Regions from separate parts of the Homo sapiens genome. Here region 1 is linked to region 2. Evidence: promoter capture Hi-C in human tissues and cell types (Jung and others, 2019). All regions are on one chromosome and are shown on one strand. The core of a region is centred on a gene start or on the middle of the fragment in contact, and the rest is flanking DNA. Distances in the headings are between cores, read along the strand shown.

Evidence for each region. Contacts are between HindIII fragments. The study calls those that stand out against the background at their distance.
Region 1: a contact is called between a fragment that was not itself captured here and the fragment with the promoter of BRINP1 in region 2, in 1 of the 25 tissues and cell types used here (H1 embryonic stem cells).

The regions. Positions count from the first base shown.
Region 1 is chr9:118,979,014-118,985,760 of GRCh38, reverse strand. It overlaps LOC101928849 (a long non-coding RNA gene), which reads right to left. Exons shown (of 8, transcript XR_001746918.2): 8 at 5,332-5,457. Among named protein-coding and RNA genes, the nearest start is that of LINC02578, 300 kb to the right of the region's middle. The HindIII fragment of the contact is 7,372 bases long and covers 1-5,277 here.
Region 2 is chr9:119,364,887-119,371,757 of GRCh38, reverse strand. It overlaps BRINP1 (BMP/retinoic acid inducible neural specific 1), which reads left to right and starts at 2,323. Exons shown (of 8, transcript NM_014618.3): 1 at 2,323-2,702. RefSeq lists enhancers at 1,359-1,879, 1,880-2,402, 2,403-2,924, 5,826-6,507. The HindIII fragment of the contact is 11,628 bases long and covers 1-6,871 here.

The sequences.
Region 1 (6,747 bases), core at 342-2,841, 390 kb after region 2:
AAAGGGAAATTACAGTGTGATACCAACCTTATGAAATAAGATAACTCAAACAACATTATTAGCATCATGGCTGGCACATAGCAAGTGCCCAGTAAATATATGCTATGTTTGAGTCCTTAATAAATGACCCAAGCACCTTTTGAAGGATTAAGCCAGTAGAGGTTAAAAAAAAAGCCTGTTATATAAAACCTTACTCCATTTTGTGTGTGTGTGTGTGTGTGTGTGTGTATGTGTGTGTGTAGAGAGAGAGAGAGAGAGGTGCTAAGCCATGTTTCTTTAAAATCTTACTCTGCAAAGTATAAGATACATGGGCTATGTAAATTTTGGATAAAAGCAAAGTAAGTCTGGTTTGTGTAATCCCTTTGTACATTCAGTGGGAAAGTGAGCTAAAAAATGAAACGGTATGTTGGTAAACTCTGAACTAAGTACCAAAGCTGAACTAATCCAAGTCTTCTATATACTCACAGCTTGGAGTTAACCTTGTCAGACCTCAGGATTTCAGCACTGACAAGTTTATTCCTATCTTTCATCAGCTATACCATACTCTCCAGCTGTGGGCATTGTATTCCTCCAAACTTCTCCTTCAGTCACTGATACAGAAGCGGGCTGCCAGGTTGTCAGTGGATGGCTTCTGAATTGGGATGAGGATCAGACATGCACATTCAAATCAACTTGCTTTTCGAAGCAATTTTCTCTCTGCCTTCCCCTCCCAGATGCAAGCTGGAGTCTGGAAACCGCTTGCATATTACGGCTGTTATAGAACCAAGCTATAATTTTCAGGCTAATGGAAGATGTATTGGCAAAAGTTGACATTAAGTGGAACTAATTGCACTGTAACTGCTAAATAACTAAGAAATAACTACCCTGTAATTTATGGTGCAGTGTGGACTATTCAGTAACTTTGGAGCTCTTCATATAGCAAGGAGCTCAGTGATGCATGAGCTGCCCAACTTTCCACCATTCAGAGGGCCTCAGAAGCTGAAGATTGTGTGTTGTGCAAACATGCAAGGCTGCAGTTTATAAAGACAGCCTGCCTTACTTAGGGATAATGGCTTCACTCCAGTACTTAGTGAATGAGAATTGTGCCTGAGAGAGTCTTAGTTGCAGGTCTATAGTAGGTTGAAATCCCAAGCCTAGTGCATACGTATACAGTATGCCTTTTATGCTGTGATTCTGCTAATGGATGGACATTCTTCCATGGACAAAATAAATTAAAGGAGAAAATAAGGGCAAGCGATGAGGCATAAAGGGTGTTACTCTCATCTAAACATGACAGCCCTCACGTCTAGTTCACAACCGTCTTCTAACCATAGCCCTAATACGTGACTCCATTAATTTTAACATTAACTATTGTGATAACCTTCTAACCGGTCCCTCATGACTCATTTGTCTTTCCCACTGCAGGTGTGTCCCCAGTCCATTTCTGCACAGTTACTACTTACCCTCTAAAATCGGACATATGCTCAGACCACTTCCTCTGTTTAACGTCCTTAAATGATCTCCTACTGTCTAAAATGTCATTTTTCAAAGCTGTGATCCATGTAACACTAATCACAAGAGATGCATTTCTAAAACAATATATATCTGGTTAAATATATTTTTAAAACGCTGAATACTATATTCTCCTCTTGGAAAATTACATCTTAAAGTTATAATAAGTCATGTAGTGAAGAATCTTGTTTAATTTTGGTAAGTTTGCTTTGCTCAAAGTCTGACCTCAGGAATCTGTGTGTATGCATAACTGCACACATGTGTGTGTGTCTGTGAGAGACAGTTTGTATATGTGTCTCCTCTAAATCTAATGTTGAAATCTGATTCCCATTGTTGGAGGTAGGGTCTGGTGGAAGGTGTTTGGGTCATGGAGGCAGATTCCTTATGAATGGCTTGGTGCCATCCCCAAGGTAAAGAGTGAGTTCTTTATTAGTTCACATGAGAGCTGGTGGTTTAAAGAAATCTGGCATCTCTCTTGCTCTCTCTCTTGCCAGCGTGACACGCCTGCTCCCCCTTCATCTTCTGCCATGAGCAAAAGCTTCCTGAGGGCCTCACCAGAAGCAGATGCTGGTGCTGTGCTTCTTGTACAGACGGCATAATTGTGAGCCAAATAAACCTCTTTTATTTATAAATTATCCAGCCTCAGGTGTTCTTCTATAACAATGTAAAACGGGTTAACAGTGTGTGTGTGTGTGTGTGTGTGTGTGTGCGCGCGCGCGCGCATGTGTGTTTAATACCTTTATAATCCTATGCCCCTATATACCTTGGTATTCCCTGGAAAGAACTTTCAAGAAATGCTGTCCCTATTTTAGATCCCAGCTTTTTAATGTACATTTTTCTTTGATGACTTTATTTGAATCTGTTCTTTCAGACACAGCCCATGGACACTGTCCCCATGAAACTTCTTCTTTCCTGCCCAGCCAGAGTTTGTTGCTCCTTTGGGTTCTAATAGGGATTTGTCTTGATCCATGCACTTGTTTTGTAATTATTTGCCCTCTTGAAGTAAGCCAAGATTTTACAATTTTGGTACTGTTGACATTTTGGACCTGAACATTTTTTATTGAAGGGAGCTATTCTTTGCATTCTATAATGTTTAACAACATCCCTGGTCTGTACTTTCTAGATGCCAATAACTCCAACACCAGCTCACCATCCCAGTATGACAATAACAAATATCTCCAGATATTGACAAATGTCCTCTGGTGGAGGTTGGGGGGAGCAAAATAACCCCTTGTTGAGAACCACTGGTGTCAGTTGTGAGCTCCTAGAGGCCAGAAGTTTTATCTTCCTCGTTCATGTATCTTTACACCTTATATGCACGGTTGGTTATATATAAATATTTAATGAACAGTTATTTTTCCCTAAATCTTTGCTAACTACAGAAACACTGACAATGAATTAAAAAATTACTTCATTACAATTGATGTCTGCATATAGCATTATAATAATCATTAAATTACTGTCATCCAGCCTCATTTTCAGAAGTTTACTTATTTTTGAGAGATTTATTGGAAAAAAACAAAAAGAAAAAGTGAAAGTATATTGTTGATATGGTAATAGTTGGAGCAAAATATTATGTAATAATAGCTCCTATGTTTAGTGCTTTTGCATTGATCAATTTACCTTCTTATCCTCAATTTCTTCATTTATAAAATTGATATTCTGCTACCTTCTCCATCAATCACAAATAGTTTCTCGGGAGATCAATTAAGACACATGTTTTAGAAAGACTTTGAATATTTTAGAATACTCAAGAAAAGAGATGATAATCTTTGTTTTATTCAACATGTCTGAGGACAAGAAGATGCTATCCTTCATAAGTTCATTTTTCTCCAGATAACTCAAATATAACTCCCTACAGACCAAAAATGGTTTTTAAATTTTAATTTAACAATTTTAGATAGAAGCTTCTGTGAGTTACTTTACTAATTTTCTATTTTTTAGTAATTGCATCATGTTACATGTAATTGAAGTATTATTTTATGAAATGGAATCATCATTACAAACATTCATGTGCATGCTGAATCATTTCAACCTCTTTCTAGAAGGCTCAGAATGCTGTAACTTCTACTATTATTCCTTAGTTCTATTTGTTTTGTATTTGTTTTGTATCATTCTTACTTTCACCCATTAGTTGCATACCTGGAGCAGTCCCTCTTATTGTTTTCATTGTGTATTTGCCTAAAACTTATCTTAAATAGTGCTGATTCTGCCTGTCTTCTATAACGATAAAAAACAAGTAACACAGATATGTTCCATTTACTTAAAAGTAAAGTGAAAATAAATAGGGTCTGAGGATATTTTCTAAAGAATATACATGAACATTACTGCACAGATACTAGGTACCAATTTTTAACTGCTCATAAGTCTTTTACTATTTCACCTTTTAAACTTTCAAGTAGTATTATTATAAGGAAATGACATTGTTGTTTGGGTGGGTAGCACAGGCAAAGTAGGGATTGTGTAATATTTCCTGTAGAGCCAGAAGCAGTGAGAGTAGGGAAGGATGGAAAAGAAGAAGACAAGAAAGGATTTAAAAAAGAATCAATGGAATATCAAAGTCAAATGAAAGGGAGGAGATTTTGGAAATGGATTTGCTCCTTTAGACGATTTATTCCACCTATATTATTATCATGTGGTAGAAAAATATTCTTCAAAGGAGGATTCTTTGAGAATGTGTAAGAACGTTTCTCAGGTGAAGAGGTTCTTTCTGTTTTTACTATTTTTAGCCAGACTAACATCTGGTATATCAAATAACGGTTATCTTGAAAAACAGAATGCCTGCATCCACATGTAACAGCACTTTCCTGGTATCAGAGACCCTCTCTGGAAGGAACTAATTGATTTTCTCTAGGGAGAAAAAAAAATGTAGACTCCAGTTCTTAGTTTTCCCATTGTTCTAGGTTAGGCTTCTGATAAGAAAGCCTTATCAGATACAGTTGTCCCTTGGTAGCTACAGGGGATAAGTTCTAAGACCCACTCCAGGATACCAAAATCTGGGGATGCTCAGGTCCCTTATATAAAATGACATAGTATTTGCATATGACCCATGCACATCATCTTGTACATTTAAATTATATCCAGATTACTTACAATACCTAATATAAATGCTATGTAAATAATTGTTAAGCTTTATTGTTTTTAAGATTTGTGTTGTTTTTTATTGTCATGTTTTTTTTTAAATTTTTGATCCAAAGTTGATTGAATCCACGAATGTGGAACCCATGGGTATGGGGGGCTGATTATATTCTCTTCTCCAGTATTCTCCATCTACTGTTGCAATGAGCTCAATGAAGCAGACAGTTAGTAATCATTAATACCCGCCTCTACCTTTGCTATACTTACTGTCCCAATTGCTTGACAAAACTTGAGAAGATCTTCACAATCTGAGCTGGAAAACTTTTTGTTTCTGAGGATTTTGATCTGTAACATAAGGGTAATCTTATCTAACTCAGTGTTTCTCATTTTAATATAAATAGGGATTAACTAGACATTTTGTTAAAATGTAGATTCTCATTTAACATCCCTGAGATGTGGCCAGATGCTGCATTCCTATCATTCTATTTAGTTCCTCTGTGTCACACACACACACAGAGGCAGAGAGAGAGAGAGAGAGAATTACTGTTATTTTCTAATAACATATACTAAAATAGAACACACAGAGTATAGATGAATTTTTTTTTAAGTATAAAGATGTTGGGATCTGAAAGTCTGGGTCCAGTCCTGTAATTTTAGGCAAATTACTTCCTTTCTTGAGTCACCACTTCCTGACCGATAGAATCAAAATGACTGCCCATATTACAAAAGTTAAATCAGAAAATGTATGTAAATGTCCTGGTATTGATTCCGGCAATCAATATATGACAATTTTATTATATTGTTACAAAAGGCACAAGATGCAGATAGTGGTATCTCATTTTATACAACATGTGTGTTCCAAGATGGTTTCCAATTAGATTCAGAAGACTCAAAGAGGAAAAAAAGCATAATGAGATAATTAGTATGATAAAATGGAAATGTTTTACTTGCAATCAGTACAAAAGACATTTGTGTCAAAGATGATATGGGAAGGAATTTGAGGATGTATAGCCCAACCTTCATTTACTTTCAATAAAAATAATAAAAGGAATATATTTTCATGCTTGTTAGAATTATGAAGTTAAAGTTTATAAATCCATATGTATTTTATTTATTCAGAATAGTTCAGACTGAATTGGGTGGAGGTCTTCCTTGGTGCTATTTATGAAAAAAAAAAAAAAAAAAAAACACGTTTTGCTGTGAAATTAAGAGTGTGAAGCACATCATACAGAGGAACAGGAGTACAGAGAGGGTGCAGAGAGAGAAATAGTTAACTGTTAGATTGAGTCATAGTTTACTGCTCACTCTTTTTATCCACATTAAACCATTTTCCTAGCAGCACATCCAAGCCACTGGATCAGAAGCTTTAAATGTAGCCTTTGCTATAGCAGGTAATATGTAAATGTATGCTCTAGAGCAGGGATTGATAAAGTATGACTGTAGGGCTAAATTTGGCCCTCTTTATCTTGTCATGAATTAGGTTTTATTGTAATATAGCCATGCTCATTAATTAATATATTGTCTATGGCTGCTTACACACTGCAACAGCAGAGTGGAATAGTTTCAATAGAGACTGTATAGACTGCAAAGTCTAAAATATTTGCTATCTAGCCCTTTTCAGAAAATGTTTGTTCAACTCTGCTCCAGAGCAAAATAAATCTAACATCTGTGAACTTCCTACTATATGCCGTGTACGTCATCCATGTAATTTTAATCAAGACCATTCTATAAAAATGTCCTGAATGACTTCTGTTTGCCAGGAAACATTGTGAATGCAGCAATAATCAGTAAGACACAGTTGTTGCTATCATGCATTTTGGAGGTGGGTAAAAGTAATGGCTCTTATTAATGTGAATTGTAGGGTGTTACGGACTCACATAGTTAGGATATGTAACTGATGTGGTCATGGAACACAATACAACTTGAGATAAATATTATCATCTCCATTTTAACAACAAAGAAACTGAGACTCAGAGAAGTTAGAAAATTGCCCAAAGCTAAGTAGCTAATATGTGTCAAAGCTATGTTTTCTTTTTTTTTAAGAAAAAATGTATATAACTAGAGACCCATGCTAATTGCCCAACTGATACCGTGCTTCTGGAGTTTGTCTCAGAATTGTTTTCTCCTTGGTGTCTTATGCCTCACCTTTTCTGCCTTGTTCTATTCTATGGTTTCAGG
Region 2 (6,871 bases), core at 1,074-3,573:
ATACTGCAAAGTATTTTCAGAACTGTAAGCAATAATATTCAGAACATTGCAAATAAAATGCTTGGTGCACGGTAAAAGTTCAAAATTCTCTCTCCTCTTTCTCTCTGTGTAGTATTGGTTGGAACTAGAAGAGCTCTTTTTTTCTTTAGGGAAATATTGACTGGGTGGGGTGAGGAAGAGAAAGACTGGACAGTATTCCAAAGCATTAAGTCCCCACTTTCTAAGGTATGTAGACCACAACCCATCTTGGGAGATTGATTACAAGGAAAGGGTTAAGAAGAATCAGTCAGAACTTTGGTCTTCACCTGAAGTTGCCTGACTACGTTGTCTCAGATTGATTTCAGAACTGCATTATCAGCAGGGCAGCTGTTGCCTACTAACAGTCATGGAAGTAGATCTCAGCTGGGGGATGATGGGGAAACAAAGAGAAAGATAGGGACGAATAAAGGAAGGAATGGGGCACAGACAGAAAGAGAGAGAGAGAAAAGAAAGAAAGGAGGAGAGGCAAGAGATAGTGACCTGGGGTTTCATACCGCGGTGGGTGGGAGAAGGAGTGTGTGTGGTGGGCGTATTTCTTCGTGGTCAGAATCAAAGTCAGAACTGACCTGGGGAACCTGTGTTCAAGACCTGAACCTGGACCAGAAGCCAAGGGAAAGAGAAAGTTGCCCAAGAAAAAAGGGAGAAATTTCCACCAGGCGAAAATAGAAATCGCTGACTGGGTTTGTGGCTGGAGAGCTGTCCGTGGTGCTGACTCCTCCTCATTGGGATTCCAGTGAAGGCTGAGAAGCTCTGCACTGGCTGCTCCTCCTCTCCCTTTCCTCTCCCCTCAGTCCTGACCTTCTGAGACCCAGGATCATTCTGGCTAGCTCGATGTCTTCTCCTCTCTTTCTCCCTTTCTCTTTGTCGATTAAATAATTTTTCCCGAGTTCCCAGTTCATCACTCAAACATTTCTCTTCCATTTTGTTTCAAGACTCCTCTTCCTCCAATTAGTTCACTGGCTCCTAGATTGTTCTAGGCCTCCCTGGTGGTCACATCTCTCTCTTATCATCCTTTGAATTAAAAAACAAACAAAAAACATACAATGGCAATCATAAAAGCAGACAACATGCACTGAGCACTCACTAGGTGTCAGGGAGCAGTCTAAGTGCCTTTGCATACATTAACTCATGAGCAGTCTAAGTGCCTTTGCATATATTAACTCATTACAATTCCACATCAACCCTATTAGATGGGTAGATATATTATTATTCTATTAAACAGACAAGGAATTGAGGCTTAAGGGGTAAGTGATTTCACCAAGACCAGACAGCTACAGGACTCCAACCTCTCTGGAGCCTGCACTTCTACTGAATCTGGCTCTTTTACATATTCCAACACCTTTTCCTATGACTTCCTGCCCCTCCATCTGGTAGCCTTAATGCTTTCTATTCTTGCCTAATCTTCAGGGGACTAGGGATCTGCATTGCTGATTTGGTTTAAATCAGAAGGGAAGCAAAGTAAACAAACATACCAAATGTGCGCTGTGTGGGAATTATCATACGAGGGCTTTATTTTCTGCTTCAGGAAGAGGCCCTATGTTAGCAGCCCCAGCCTGCATTCAGGCTGATTGCAGAGTATTTTGCTTTTTATTTTCATGTCTTAGTCCCTGTACCCTCGCCCCTTCCCCGCCTCTGGTGGTCTCCAGAGAACTTCGTGTCCCCTCAGCTTCTCCCTCCTACATCCTGCCTACGTAGAGAAGCTCTTGCTTCATTCTGGGAGGTTACGTGGGCTCTCGCCTACACACCGAGAGAAACAAACAGTGTCAAACACTCACAGAGAGACGCGCAGACACAAACGGACCCACACGGGCAACTCCCGAGACAAAACCCACACTCGATGGATCCACGCGGCCGTGGAAACACCTGCCGCCCCAGAAACACTCAGGTACTCGCGACACACACAGTACAGTCACGCTTAAGGGCACCAGGATTCCGGGTTTGCGCGTATGCGCGGTCCCTTTGGATGCTCGTGCGCATAGACACAACACCCTACACGCCCCAGACCCACGAAACTCCCTACGGCTCAGCCCCAGCCCACCCGGGCCGCCCTTCCCTCGAGGCGGCCTCCCGTCTCTCCTCCTCTCGCTTCTCCTCCTCCTCCGCCTAAAGATGTACAAAACACTCCTCGGAAGCAACCCCGGCGTTCAGCTCCTCCCTCCCCGCCCCCCGGCCGCCGCTCCCCCATTCATTTTCGGCCGTCGCCGGCTAAGTCCCTCCCCCGGCGTAGCCCGGCCTCCGCCGCTCCCCGCCCGGAGACCGCGGCGCACTTGGACTTCCCTCTCCATTCGCCAGCCGCCTCGCTCCCGGACCCCACGGCTGCAAACTGATCTGGCGCGCGGGGAGGAGGAGAGCGCAGGCGAGCGAACCCGCGAGAGAGGGAGAGAGCGAGCGAGCAACAGCGAGAGCGAGAGCGAGAGAGCCGGGAGGCAGAGGGAGTAGTGACCGCCTTCCGGAGCCGGGATTCATGCCTGTCCTCGGGACCAGCGAAGGGGACTTTACGGCTGAGTATGAGCCAGGCTGCTAGGAGCCAGGTACCCCCACGCCTGCAGTCCCCGCGCCGTGCCCGGAATGCGAGCTGCACGCAGGGCTCTCCCAAGTTCCCACCGAGCCGAATAAAAAGCGTCCTCCCGCAGCTCTCCGCCAAAGACGGACATTGACTCCAGGTAAGGCGGCGCCGGGTGCAGCGCCCCGCAGCCCCGCTGCCCTTGGACCCGGCCCCGGGCCGCATTCGGGGCGTCCCCGCGCTCCTCTGCCCCTCCCCCTACCGGCACCCTTGTCCGCTCTTCACCTGGCCGCCCCGCCGCCTCCAAGTCTTCTCCAGTTCTAGGGAGGGGGTTCCTGTGCCTGGGGCTCAAAGGGCTAATTGCGGGTTTGAGTGAGTGGCGTGTGTGTCCCCGCGCGCTCCCGACGTGTGCACCATGGTGGGAACTTGATGTGGTGCTAGTGTGTTTGCGTGTGCGGCGTCGTTTGCGTTTGATGCGTGTGTTCGTGGTGTGTGTGTGTGTCCGTGTGTGTAAGGGAGGGGTGAAGAGAGAGAGGTCCTATAACCTACTTACGGCGCGATGTGTGTGTGCATGTTTGTACGTATGTGTTTGTATGTGTGCCCTCGTGTGTCTTTTTAATTAGGTCTCTCCAGCTTACACGGAATGGGACCCTTACTATAGGATCACGTAGTCACCGGGAAACCCGCTGTGGACTTCCTCTTGGGGCTCTGGGCTTGGGGTTTGGGGAGGATTATGGGGCTGTAGATGGCACCTTATTTAGCCCAATGTTGGTACGCTTGAAGGAAAATTCCTCCAAACGGTGGAATCCTGCTACACTGGGACCCACAGCTTAATATGAAAGAGACATGGCCAACCCCCGAGGCAAATGAGACGCTGTCACTTTAAATTCTACACTGGGCAGACTCCAAGATTCTGATGGGAATTTGGAGACACTGGATAGTGGGTGACAGAGAAAGGGGGAAGTCAGCGGTGGGCTCCTTATCTGGGGCTTGGAAAGTCTGGGATAGGGATTTACCCTGCATCCCCGTTTGCAATCAACAGAGCCCCTCCGGCTTCTGTTGGTTTTGGGGAGGATCTGGCAAGTTTGCATGGATCCCCCTCAGGGGAAAGGAGAAAGCGTCCTCGGGGACTTGCTCATCCATCACAGTTGCAAAGGGTCTCAGAGGAAATTTCATCTGGGGCGGCTGTGGATGATATGGAAGGAGATGGATGGGGCACTTTCCTAAGACAGATTCGTCTTTCTTTCCCCATTTCAGGCGGGGAAGCCCCCAGAGAGTCTCTCCCTAAATATGCCTCTCCATGGCTCCCCTGGAGTTAGGGGGATATTGAGAGAAGGCAGAGAGGTGGAGAGGGAGAGAGAGAGAGCAAGAGCGAGAGAGAGGGAGACAGAGAGAGAGAGTGTTTCAGTACTGAGGGAGATCTACAATTTGAAAAGGGGCTGTGAGTGTGGAACCCATGACAGAATGTGGCAGTAATTGACTTAAACTGCTGTCGGTTTGCACCTCGCGTCTCTCACTTGGCTCCAAAATACTGCCAAGGGCAGGGGGGCGGTGGAGGAATCTCAGCCAGGAAGGTAGTTTGGGTCAAGGCCCTCTTTCTTCTTTCCTCCATCTCCTGGGAGGCTCTTTAGGTAGGTCCCTTGGCCACCCTGGCTTGGTACTGTTGGGCTTGGGCTCTGGGGCCAGCCATTGATTTGATTCCCAGCTGCCTCTTAAAGGCTTGCCCTACTCAGCAAAAATGCTGAGTTTTACTGCTGTTAGCATGGCTTCCAGACTCGGCAGCTGTTACTTTCTCAAGGTAAGCGGCAGCCGTTCTGCTCTCAGGCAGGGAGGCTAGGAGAAGACAAGGGCTGTGACGCTGGGACACAGCCTCTTGTCTAGCTCAGCACGGAGGGGCCGCTGAAAAGCCCTCTTAGGGGAAAAAAGTAGAAATATATTTGGCCTAAAAAATGTACACATATATTCTAGGAAGATATATATATATATATATATATCAATCACACACACACACACACACACACATGTGTTCATATTCTGGGGAGAGATAAAAGCAAACATGTATTTGTAGGAACCTGCCCTAGTGGGTGGGTTCTACCTGCAGGCACTTGCAGACATACCATTCTCTGTCCAGAGGCTGATACCTCAGGCTGAAGCCTTCACATAGCCACAGAGAATCTCCTTCAGGAAACTCATGTCAGGGCAGAGCTCCCTGGATTATCTTGGGTAGGGGGTACTAGGGCCAAGGAGGAGACCCATTTTTGGGAACTGCCTCATTTTCTCTCTTTCCTAATTCACAGACGATCGAAACTGGAAGGAATATTAAAGAGCAGAAAGGCAGGACTCTGTGGCCTAAAGAGGGAATGAGAATTCCCCAACATTCAGTAGTGGGTTAGTGGCATGCCCAGGACTAGAATCTAGGCTTATCAATCAGCTAGATCAATACCCTTTCCACTCCTCCCAGCAATATACACTCTAGGACTGTATATTGCTCCCACCCCTATCTTGCCAACCTGCCACCATGACCCCTACCAAGACAATCGCTTGTCTTCCCTCATCAAACTTCACATTTTCAGAGATGCATTTCAGGGTTTTTCTATCTGGAAACATGGCCCTGAAGAGAAAAGATCCAATGCCTCAATCACTATTCCCGAAAGACACACACACACACACACACACACACACACACACACACACACACACACACACACACACGGTGGTGGGGGGAGGACTGAGAGAGAGACAGAGAGAGAACATAGATTCCTTCTCCAATGTCTTTAGGGAATTACCGACAAGCAAGGACCCAGTACTGAGTGTGACTGGTAGGCAGAACCCAGCAAAGTGTCTGGTCTGTATCTAAGATTTTTATTAAGGAATGCACTGGTTTCCAGAGAGCAAAATGTACACCCATCTACCAGTGCAAATACTTCAGGCAAATTAATTTCTTTATATTAATTAGAATCTCACCCCTAGACATTAATACATATTACAGGCACAGAAGCATATGCAAGCACACATGCATAGGTGTGCTTATACACACATGTGCACACAAAGATCCAGAAACCTTTCCTGCTTGCTACATTTCCAAAAAAGAGAACCTCCACACCAAATTGTGTTCTCCCATATAAAGCATCTCCCATGTGAAGAGTAGGACCCATAAACTCCAGGGAAGGAGAAATGTAAAGCCCTGTGAAAGAGAGACCCTGGAGAAGTCAGAATCGAGTTCACTCAAAAGCGTGCTCTTAGACTTCTAGATGCCTGTTTCGGGGTGCAGGCAGATACTGAAAAACATGGGGGTTTTAGGCCCATCTGCAATAGAGCCTTTTCCATGCAGGATTTTCCGGGGCTAGATGGCACTTTAGCTCCCAGAAGGGGGAGCTGTGACTCCATTTCAACCAAGGAGAAACAGCTCAGAGATGCCAAATCAGCTCTTGGGCCCCCGTTGAGTTTAGACGACCCAGCTCAGGCTGCAATGAGTATCTTTGCCGCTGGTACAGGCAAGAATTGTAAAAACACCCTCCCCTGATAGGTTCGAATTCAACATCTCTTTCTTAGTGCTTGCAAGAGTTTATGTTATGGATCATAAAGTCCTCTATTTTTCTGAAAAGGTCTTTGCCCAAAGGCCCCTTCAGTTGTGCAAGGAGACATTTTTTGATTTGCAACCTGTCTCTTTTCCCCTCCCAATTCCTTAGAGGAAATCACCAGTACATTATCACTTGAATGGGCCATTAAGGTTAGACATACCCTACCCGTCTTTTCCTGCTTTTCCCTTGCTGAAATACAAAGCTTAACAAATTGGCTGCTGAACTACTGGTAACCATGTTAAAGACAAGATGGAGGTCATGTGAAGAAGACAGGTCCTTAAATGTCATTCTTCAAATAATTTTTCCAGTTGTGCTCCCTTCTGCAAAGATTATCTTTATTATTCTTTCCACCATCTCCCACATTCAGCCACGACTTTTAACAAAATTCCACCCATATTTCAACATCTAGCTCAAATGACCCTTCCAAGAAGTCTTCTCAAGATCTTATTTTGGAATTAATCTCTTTATCACCTGATTTTTCTGTACCATTTTATCTGAAACTCTATTTTAGTTTGTGTCTCTGTTTGCCCTGCTTTATAGCGCTGGGGGTATAGGTCTATCTTACCCTCTTCAGTATGGTCTCAGGAGCATCTTTGTATTCCAGGGACTGACACAGAGTAGTTGCTTTATAAATGTTTGCCCTTGCATTTCCTGTTGCATCTCAATAGCAACTGTCATCTCTCTCTCTGTCTCTCACACTTTCTAGCTAACAATTGCTTCATGTTCATTTAAAGCAATGCCGTTACGG